Regions from separate parts of the Homo sapiens genome. Here region 1 is linked to region 2. The links are contacts of gene promoters, found by promoter capture Hi-C in human tissues and cell types (Jung and others, 2019). All regions are on one chromosome and are shown on one strand. Each heading gives the region's core, a stretch centred on a gene start or on the middle of the fragment in contact. The rest is flanking DNA. Distances are from core to core; before and after follow the strand shown. Region 1 has its middle 2.8 kb from the start of MAP6-AS1. Region 2 holds the start of ARRB1 (arrestin beta 1).

Region 1 (5,133 bases), core at 1,915-4,414, 230 kb before region 2:
GACCCTCAGCTTCCAAACTATCAGTAAGACCTGCCTGGCCTTCCTGCTAAATAGCAAATTTGCCCACTTTTCACTATCTCTATGGCCACCCCCTCTTACCTCACCCATCTCACAATTTGTAATTCAGTCTATGCATCACAGCATGGCACTCAGGTGTAAGAAATGCCACGTCTTTATTTTGGTAAATCTAATTAAATAGACTGGGAGCCCCCTTCTCTCGTTGCCACGGTTGACAGGAAATCTGATATTAGTCATTTTCCTGGAGCCTCATCCTGTCTTTGGGGCTTATCACAATTCCAGGAGGTTCAGGCCATCCTGAGAAGAATCACTATGGCTTCCCTGAGCCCAAGCCGGGGGGCTGGCAGCCCCTCTCCCTCTCCCTAGGGCTTGGCTGGGGACCTCCCAAAGCCTGCCCAGGTTGTGGTATTTCTGCCCAGTTTGCCCAGGCATTCCTATAGCTTCCACATCTGAGCCCATCCCTCAGAGGCCCTGCAACCCAGCCCGCAGGCGCGTGGCCCTTTCTGCACACCTTCATTCCCGGAGGGAAGCCACTCCATCCCTCATCCATCAAAGCACCTGCACTTTCACTCCCTCTCCACCTTGGGCCATCAGTTCAACATCCTCTGCTGGGTGTGGTGGTGCATGCCTGTAGTTCCAGCTATTTCGGAGGCTGAGGCTTGAACCCAGGAGCTCAAGGCTGCAGTGAGCTCTGATCATTCTACTGTGCTCAAGAGCCCATCTCTTGAAGTGGGGGGAAAAGGGGAAAAATCCTCTACGGCGTTTATTCTGGTTCTGGGTGGGCCAGGGCTTCACTGTTTTACATTCCCACCCACAGTGTAGGAGGGTTCCAGTTTCTCCACATCCTTACCAACACTTGTTATTGTCCATCTTTTTCATGTAGCAGTAATTTCTTTGGCTTGTTCCAGAATCTTACATTTTTTTCTTACATAAAAATTGGTATCTAATAAATATGAGTAGATCTCTATTGTTGTGTGGATTAATGGGAATCCAGGAAACAGCTTGTTTTGGCAGGAGGATGGACTCAATTTGGTGTCCAGACTTCTGGACATGGTGGTCTGAGACTGGGAAAAGGGTCTGAGCTGAAGGCGGAGATGCAGACCTCATTGAAATGTGAGCCTCGCCAACCCACAGAAGGTAAAAAGGCTATGAGAGAGGGTGAGTTTACCCAGCAGGAGTGTGGAAAGCGAGAGACGGATGGGGTCAGGTCAGAGCGCTGGGAAACACCCACATTCAGGGGACAGGCAAAAGAAGGAGCCCCCAAGTGGAGGCTGCCCTAAAGCAGCAGAGGAGTCAGAAGAAAACTAGAAAGGAATGTCACCTTGGGGAAGACATCAAGGATGAAGAGTTAACAGGGTTAGAGACCATAACGGCTTCCCTGCAATATGGATTTAGAATCTGTTGAACAAAATGGGCAAAATGTCGTTACATATTGAAGTTTTGTGATGGGTACTATTATTTATTTATTTTGAGATGGAGTCTCACTCTGTCGGCCAGGCTGGAGTGTGGTAGTGAAATCTCCGCTCACTGCAACCTCCGCTTCCCAGGTTCAAGTGATTCTCCTGTCTCAGCCTCCCGAGTAGCTGGGACTACAGGCGCACACCACCACGCCTAGCTAATTTTTGTATTTTTAGCAGAAACAGGATTTCACCATGTTGGTCAGGCTGGTCTTGAACTCCTGACCTCAGGATCTGCCCGCCTCAGCCTCCCAAAGTGCTGGGATTACAGGCGTGAGCCACCGTGCCCAGCTATGTGTACTATTATTTAATTGTCATGTATGTTGGAATTTTTTTCATAGGCGCGAAATTAGTTTTTTTTGTTGTTGTTGTTGTTTTGAGATGGAGTCTCACTCTGTTGCCAGGCTGGAGTGCAGTGGTGTGATCTCGGCTCACTGCAACCTCCGCCCCCCAGGTTCAAGTGATTTTCCTGCCTCAGCCTCCCGAGTAGCTGGGACTACAGGCGCATGCCACCATGCCCAGCTAATTTTTTGTATTTTTAGTAGAGATGGGGTTTCACCATGTTGGCCAGGATGGTCTCGATCTCTTGACCTCGCGATCTGCCCGCCTCGGCTTCCCAAAGTGCTGGGATTACAGGCATGAGCCACTGCATCCGGCTGAAATTAGTTTTTTTTAAAGTAGCAATAAAGAGATCACTGACTTTGGCAATTGTAGACTCTCTAGAGTAGAAGAAACAGAAGCCCGATTTCGGATAAGGGGGATAAGAAAGGAGAGAAGTCAAGTGTGTTTTCATACCTGATGCATAATTTACTGACATCTCATTTAGCAACCACTGAGCACATATAACCCAAGTATCCCTGAGAAAAGAACACACTGTGTGTTACAGTCATTAATTACTTTCACAATCCCTTGGTGCCTCCCACACTGAGACCACTGTCAGCTAAGCCCAGCCAGCAGTGAGCCAAGAGTCCTTCCCCAAAAGGAGGAAAACTGCTTGCTAAGGAGCACCAGGCTTCACTCCTAAATTGTAGATACTCCATTTTGATTCTTCTATCAGAGTTTGCCATGGGTTCAAATACCATCCCATCTGCCGCAGACACTTGAGCCATCTTGGGATCGGCTGGGCTATCAGGGCCATGTGGCAGAGCTGCTTGCCTTTCATTCTGGACCACCTGGAAACTTTCCTTTTCTCTGGACCCCACTCCAACCCTGCAGCCTTATAGGTTACTCAATAACCTTATAAGGATCAGAGAAACACACCAATATATTTTGCTTCCAGAATACATAGAAGCCCAAGAAGTGTTGTGCTTATTAGCAGTAAGAGGCAGAAAGCCCAGCAAGTTGTCTTTCATTTTGCAGGGATCCAGATCACTGAACACCCAGGAACTTCACGTGGTTGGCAGGCCCCTATGTTCTCATGAAACTTACTTCCATTCTTAGGCACACTTATGTCTTATTGATGCATCTGAAGTACCCACTGCTTCTCCTTCTCCCAATCCTAGCAACATAGTATAATCAATGTAGTGGACAAATATAATGGCCTGTGATATGGGAGGATGATCAAAATCTACATAGAAAATCAGAGACTTGAGGAGTTTCAAGACAAGATGAGAAAGGTGTACTGCTATCCCTGCCAACAGAAAGAAAACTGCTAAGGGGACTGTCTGTAGAGGACAAGAAAACATAACTCATCAGATAGTTTTACATTGTGACAAAAAAACAATTATAATTCCCATAAAAAGACCACACCTGGAATAATAGCATCTGCAACTGAACTCACCACCTGAGTAAGCTTACAGTAATGACCTGTCATTCTCCAAGACCCGTGCCTTCTGCACAGACCAAATAGATGAGTTAAATGAAATGTGACAGAAACCACCTTTGCATCTTTCAAGTCTTTGATGGTGGCACAAGTTCCTGTTACTCCCCAGAATTTATTATTGGTGTATTATTTTGGTAAGAAGGAGGAGATTGAGGGGTTTCCACTTGATCATTTTGCCATAATTACGCTTATTCCACAGGTCTGGAGGCTCATGTATGAATTCTACCTGTAATTCCAATTATATATCATGAAAGTAAAAAAAAAATAATAATAATTGCAGAATGGGTTCAGGGTCCCACTGCACTTGGGTCAAAACTCCAATTATTACCTGACCAACCTGAGCCTCTACACAGCAGCTTTCTGGGTCCTCAGGAATTAACATTAAATAGACTTAACATCCACTAATCCCTGAAAAATTTGAGTATTTTCTTTCCACAGAGCACAGTTTTCTGGCAAATGGCCCAGGACCGTTTGCAGAAGGCTGAAGGAATGATTTACAGTATGTATCTCTGGTGCTATTCAAGGGGCTTTTCTGAAGGGTACTGGCCTCTCTTTCATTCTAGGGACTTTGGGTGAGAGGTTGAGATCTTGTTCTTAGTGGCTCAAGTCAAGCTTCCACTTGCCAGCTCTAGAGGGTTTGTGTTTGTTTGTTGGTTGTTTTGATTTCCTGTTTCTGTTATAGAGATTAAGGAGGGCCAGGTGCGGTGGCTCACACCTGTAATCCCAGCACTTTGGGAGGCCAAGGTGGGTGGATCACCTGAGGTCAGGAGTTCAAGACCAGCCTGGCCAACATGGTGAAATCCTGTCTCTACTAATAATACAAAAATTTGCTGGGTGTAGTGGTGCATGCCTGTAATCCCAGCTACTAGGGAGGCTGAGGCAGCAGAATCACTTGAACCCAGGAGGTGGAGGTTGCAGCGATCCGAGATCGCATCACTGCACTCCCATCTAAAAAAAAAAAGAGAAAGAGAGATTAAGGAGGACCTTAAGAGCTGCCCATCTGTTTGGTCTCCTTGGTCTTATTTGGTCCTTGATTGATCAGCCTTTGCTGAAGACATCTATGGTCAGAACATGCTTATTGCCACCTGAGGTCTGATGTCCTGGGTGGTCGAGTGCTGCTCGCCCTCTGCTCCCCTGGGGTCCTATCATTTCCACTGAAATCATGGAGTCCATTTTCATGGCAGCATCTCCCACCAGTATGCCGAGCCCACAGAGAGCAAGTGCTGCAACATGCTTCAGAGATGCTTCCCTCACTCATGTGTTTCTGGGTGCCTTGGTGAAGGGGGTCTTTCTGTACAAGAGGAAGTTAGGCATGTGGAGCTTAGCCAAGGAGAGGGAGTGGGCCACACAGGGAACAGTCACCTCAACATTCCTCCCTCCCTTGGTCTTTGGATTGCATCTTCTATATTAAAACGAGGAACTTCTGGCATCTCAATTTCAATGAGCACAGGCCTTGATTGAATCCAGGAGTCAGTCAACCAGTTAAGCAAACAAAACCACTCCTAGCTGCTCACACTGGCACATTGAATCTAGAATCTCAGCTAAATGTACCTATATTAATAAATTCAGCCCGGTGAAAGTCATATTCCTCCGTCCCTGGATTAGCACCCACAGAAAACATTCTGATATACGCTATCCAGATTTTTGCTGATATAAGTTAGCAAAATCTTGCAATTCTTTTGATGTGTGTGCTGCCTCCTCCCAGACTTGACTCAGGAATTAGGCAGGCAAGGATCTATCCATGATGGGGCTGGAGACAACGTGAGTGGGGCATGAAGAGAACTGGCCTCTCCTCAGGTGACAGATGCCCACCATATTATGCTCCAGAAGAGGAGT
Region 2 (5,716 bases), core at 915-3,414:
TCAAAAAAAAAAAAAAAAAAAAAAATATATATATATATATATATATATATATGTTTTTCATAGAGCCTGGCAGGTAAAGCAAAATTGTCCTCTTGACTCTTCTTCTGCCATCGTTGCTCCCTCACTGGAATTTAAAGTAAATTAAATCGACCGGGAGCAGTGGCTCACGCCTGTAATCCCAGCACTTTGGGAGGCCAAGGTGGGTGGATCACCTAAGGTCAGGAGTTCGAGACCAGCCTGGCCAACATGGTGAATCCCTATCTCTACAAAAATACAAAAATTAGCTGGGCATGATGGCAGTGGCTGTAATTCCAGCTACTGGGGAGGCTGAGGTGGCAGAATTTCTTGAACCCAGGAGGCAGAGGTTGCAGTGAGCCAAGATCATTCCATTGTACTCCAGCCTGGGTGGCAGAGCAAGACTTCGTCTCAAAAATAAATAAAATAAATAAATATATTTAGATGTTTTGGGCATCAGCATGGAGAGATCCATTGGAGATCTTATGGTTTGGTCAAACCTGTTTTACAGGTGGGGAAACTGATGTGGAGAGTGGCAGGACCTGGCTTCACCATCCTGGTTAGGGATCTCCTGTCATCAAAGAAGATTCTAGTCTGCTCCTTTCCAGATCTCTGAGCCCTGCAGAAACAACAGGTGGCTTCCTCTTCTTCCTCTGTAGAGGGTGAAACCCAGAGGCCAAGACTGGGAGGAGGGTTCTGGGCTTTCATCCATACTCTCTAGCTCCTAACATTGCCCAGAGGTGGGCCACCCTGCCTACCCATCAGCCTCCCCCTGCCCCTCTGCCAAATCTGGACATAATTATAGTAATTATACTGCATATAAACAGTATAGGTAACTGCTTCTGAGCATAATTACAGGAGATGTTTACATACTCACAACAGCATCAGAGTAAATGATAGCTTACTTTCCCCTTAATACTTAGATATCAGGGACCTATCCGGGATAATTAGCCAAATCTCAGTAGTGAGGGTGTGGTAAAGACCTTACCGTTTCCCACTACCTGCAAAGCAGGAAGGCACCTCAGACAAAGCAGGGTCCCAGCCAAGATTTCACAGGACATCAAGAAGCCTGCAGAGAAGTGGGCTAACATCTACTGGGCACCTACTGTATGCAGGCGCTCAGGGGAGGCCAGCAAACACAAGCGAGTTCTTTCAACCTATTAACAATTCTGCAGGCTGATATTAGTGTATCCTCACTTTACAGGTCCGGACATGGGTTCTCAGAAGCTTAGTGCACAGGGTCACCCACAGCGAGCCATGGAGCTGGGCATGGGCGCTTTCCACGGTGCTACCCGGTCACAGCAGCGGGCCAGCTCTGCCCTCTTCCTTTATCGCCTCTTCTCACTTCTCACAGCTTCCTCTTCCTGGGCGGCCTCCTGCAGCCCCTGCTGGCCGCGGGTCTCCGCTCAGTTCCCCAGTGTCAAGGCCGTCTACTGCCCCCTCCGCCCCTTCTTCCTGTCCCTGTTGTGTGGCTGGGTGTTATCTCTCCAGTAGAAGGGGGTGGGGTGGGTGGAATGGGGAAGGGTGGAGCACAGGGCGAAGGCCTTGCCAGGCATCCCGGGGTCTCCAGCTAAGCGAGGGGCCGCAGGGAGCGCGGCCTCGGGGTCGCCAGACCCTCGGCTTCCAACCACCCGCACACACAAAGGCTGCCCCGGCATGCGCGGGAGAGCGCGCTCGCACCCACGGCCGTGCGCACACACGCACAACTGCACAAAGACGTGCACACTCCTCCATCCACACCAATACACTCCCTAATAGGGCCCGCACACAGCCGTGCGCCCTCACATACACCACACCACCACCACCACCACCACACACACACACACACACTCTCACACGGACTCGCACGCGGGTGGACCCCCTCCCCCACCACAAACGCCGACCTTGGGGCCCTGACGCGTCCCGCCGCGCTGCCCTGCCTCGCTGGGCGGCGCGCGCACACGCAGACGCGCACACACACACACATACACACACGCACACACCCCGCGCGGTTCCACGCCCCTGGCCGCGGCCCGGGCGCTGCGCTGCTCGACGCGGCGGGCGGCGGGCGGGGACCGGGGGCGGGGGCGGCGGCGGCGGCCGGGAGAGCGGAGGAGGCGGAGCAGGGAGCCGGGAGCGGGCTGGCCCGCGCTCCTCCTGCTGGCTGGGGATTTTCCAGCCTGGGCGCTGACGCCGCGGACCTCCCTGCGACCGTCGCGGACCATGGGCGACAAAGGGACCCGGTGAGTGCAGGGCGGCCGCCCGGCGGGGGGCGCGTGGGGGCGACCTCGGCGAGGACACGGGCGGGGGCTCCGATTGCGTCCTGGTTCTGCGTTCGCGGCCACCGCGGGATCTAGTACCAGCTCTCCTCCACCCGAGGTCTCCTGTGTGGTCTCCCCGGCAGGGCCGTGGGCGGGGGGACCCAAAGGGCGAGGGCCGGGCCGCCCCATGTGGGCCGCAGCTCCTGGCCCGGACACACAGCTCGCTGACACCCAGCATTGGCCGGCAGCCGCAGAGACGCACGGGGGCAGGTTGACACACAATACACGCACGGGCACACTAACCCGTGGCACAGGCATGCTGGCGCACACACTGGCAACCGCTAGCACACGCTCATCACACGCAGTGGCACGCCGTCATACACGCCTCGGTCAACACATTCTTGCTGACAGCCTTGTTGGCATGCACAGCTCACAATCCAACACACACCAATTCTAGCACACCCTCGTGCTGGCACACACGTGTGGGCATACACTGATACGCACACTGTCACCTGCACTCGCTGTAGCAAACACTCTTGCTGGCACACACATCACCCTCACTGGCACACACACTTGTGCTGGCATGTCTCACCAACACAGCGGAGCGCAAGGCCACACCAACACTGACCCCCACAGACACAATCAGACTGATGCCCTCAAAGACTGGCACCCCACAGGCACGAGCTGCTAGCCCAAGGCCCGCTGACACACACGCTTCAGGCCCCACATGGCCAGAAGTGGAAACACACACATCACACAGGGTAGAGCGCCCCCCGCCACCCCCAGCCTGGGGAAAACAGATCGCATTTCATCCAAATAGATCCCATCCATCTACTCTGTTCCCTTTCCCTCTGACCTCCTGAGGAGTGGCTGGCCAGGGGCTGTTTTGAACCTAGGGCTGGGAGAACCCCTCCCGTTCTCCTAGAACCTGTCCTGAAATACTCAGAAACAGTCTCTGCCTCTGAAAGGGGAAACTGGGACAAAAGGAGGAGGGGGCTGGAGCAGGACAGCCCCTGGGGGCAGCCCTTCAGACAGGACCAGCGCTGGTCAGGGGCTCAGCGTTGCCACCCTATTTTCCCCGTTGCCCTCCCCACCCCCTAAGTGGGCACAGCAGCCTCTCCCTGGGCTCCCCCTCTTTCTCATTGTTTTCTGTCTTTCTCTTCTATTCTTGTGTCCGACTTCTGCCTCCTTCCTTTCCTCCCCTCCCCTCTCCTCGTTTCCATTTATTATTAAGCTCTTGCTGTATACTAGGCGTAGTGTGGGGGATCAAAGATGCGCAAGGCCCACTCCTCCCCTGAAGGAGCTAACAGACTAGAGAGACACCACCCCGGTGGGCACCACCTTTCAGGGCCACTGACAAAGCTATTTCTCACCCACTGCCATCTAAGACTCTCTCTCCACAGTGTGAGAAAGGGCTTGCAGAGATTATTTCCATTTTCTAGAGGAGGAAACAGGCTCAGAGGCAACTCAGGCTCTTAATGTTTAGAAACTACTTTCCAGCCATCCTCCTGACAGCTCTTCCAGGAGGTTAATTTTCCTCTTCCTGTTTTCTAGCAGAGGAACCAGAGGGCTAGAGGCCATGTGATTTGCCTAAGGTCAAAAGGGGCCAGAGGCAGGGCGGAGGCTGGAGTCCACTTGGTCATGTCTCTGTGGATGGCCCTAGGGCACTGCCAGGCCCCTCATGGGCCAGGGAGGGGAGCCCTGCTCTGTGCTGGAGGCCCAGGCTTTGGGGGGGACGGCAGAAGATCATGCTGTGTCTGCATGAACCTTGATGGCTAGTCCCCATTGCAGCTGGCTGGCCAGCACTGTGACCTAGGCCTCTGTCCTCAGTAGGAAGGTATGTGACTCCTTCCCCAGCCACATCCATCTGCCCTGAAATTAAGACCCTCTTGACCCATGAGGTCAGGCTTTTCTTCCTGCAGGGCATAGCAGGGAGTCGGAGCCATTCTCCACTCCATTGTCCTTCCTAGGCTGCCTTGTGATCGGAGTGACTCAGCCTCTCTTGGGTCTCTCTGTACCTCTCTGTGACTTGGGGGATAAGTGTCATTGTTGTCCTGCTGACATGATTGTCAGGAAGATGTGGACACCATGGGCTTCCAGGCACCTGTTGGAGACCCTGTCTCTGAGGCCAAGGTATTTTCCATGGCTCCCCCTGCCCTGCCTCAAACTCACTGGTGGACCTTTGGGACATTGGGCAATTGCCTTTACTTTTCCGGACGTTAGTTTCCCATCTGTAAACTGGAGCTATCAATACTTACATTTTAGGGCTTCCCTTGTACTTACTGACTTCACTGGGCAGGGGAAGAGGCACTGCCTGAAGCCTGGAGCCAAGGCCCGGCTAAATCCACCTGATGGTGGCCCAGACCTCCCCTTCAGACTCTCCTGCAGCCCCATGAGGCCTTTCTGTCCCTTTCCGGACAGTTGGCTAAGTAATTTGGAAAAGAAGGGCAAAATCAGTAATGGGCTGTACCTTGTCTTTTTCCGTAAGGCATGAGTACCTATGACTTAGAAGAGGAATCTGCAGATATCAAAAACTGAACATCAGGAATCATCGCAACCATCCCTCCATCTGGAATTGCACCCCCATGTGAAAGTGACAATGAAAATTTATCACAAACTGTCATTGCCCTCTAGGAACTCCCAGGGTCAAGGGGGAAAGAGGTGTTAAATACCTGGACAGGGCTGTGCGCGGTGGTTCACGCCTGTAATCCTAGAACTTTGGAAGGCTGAGATGGGCAGATTGCTTGAGCTCAGGAGTTCGAGACCAGTCTGGGCAACATACCATCTCTACAAAAAACACAAAAATTAGCTGAGTGTGGTGGCACATGCCTATAGTCCTAACTACTCTGGAGGCTGAAGTGGGAGGATCACTTGAGCCCTGGAGGTTAAGGCTGCAGTGAGCCATGATCATGCCACTGCACTCCAGCCTGGATGAGAGAGTGAGACCCTGTCTGAAAAAATAAAAAAAAAAAATACCTGGACAGGACTAATCACAGGGCAGGAGTATGATGGTTGCTGCAAGGTGCTCTGGGAACAATCATATATTCATTCAACAAATGTTGATGAGTGCCTTCTGAGTGCCCAGGGCCTGGGGATTCAGCAAGGAAGGAGTCTACTCTGTCCTCCAGGGATTTAGAGCAGAGCAGGTGGTCATAACGCAGGATGACATGTGTTGTGGGAGGCTTAAGGAGAAGTCCCCAACCCAGGCCCAGGCAGGGAGCATGGTACAGGAAGCTCTCCTGGAAAGGAGGTGGCGTTGGAACTACTGAGCTTCATCTGGAAGGATGAATAGGCCAAGGGGGCGGGATTGGGAATGATATTTCTGGCCAAGGGTGCAGAATGTGCAGTGGCTTGGAGGCAGGAAGCAAGGCGTGCAGCCTGGGGCCTGGGCTGGGGATGATAGTGAGCCTTAAGAGGTAAACACAGACCGGTCACCAGCAGTCTGGGAATGTCAGGCTAAG

Evidence for each region. The method cuts DNA at HindIII sites, captures the fragments that hold promoters and counts their contacts. A contact is called where the count stands out against the background at its distance.
Region 1: a contact is called between a fragment that was not itself captured here and the fragment with the promoter of ARRB1 in region 2, in 1 of the 25 tissues and cell types used here (mesenchymal stem cells).

What each region holds. Positions count from the first base shown.
Region 1 is chr11:75,577,791-75,582,923 of GRCh38, reverse strand. No RefSeq gene overlaps it. Among named protein-coding and RNA genes, the nearest start is that of MAP6-AS1, 2.8 kb to the left of the region's middle. RefSeq lists a silencer at 4,626-4,794. The HindIII fragment of the contact is 6,092 bases long and covers 119-5,133 here.
Region 2 is chr11:75,348,109-75,353,824 of GRCh38, reverse strand. ARRB1 (arrestin beta 1) reads left to right here and starts at 2,164. Exons shown (of 16, transcript NM_004041.5): 1 at 2,164-2,237. The coding sequence starts at 2,218. RefSeq lists enhancers at 956-1,911, 2,974-3,023 and a silencer at 2,144-2,423. The HindIII fragment of the contact is 14,768 bases long and covers 1-5,716 here.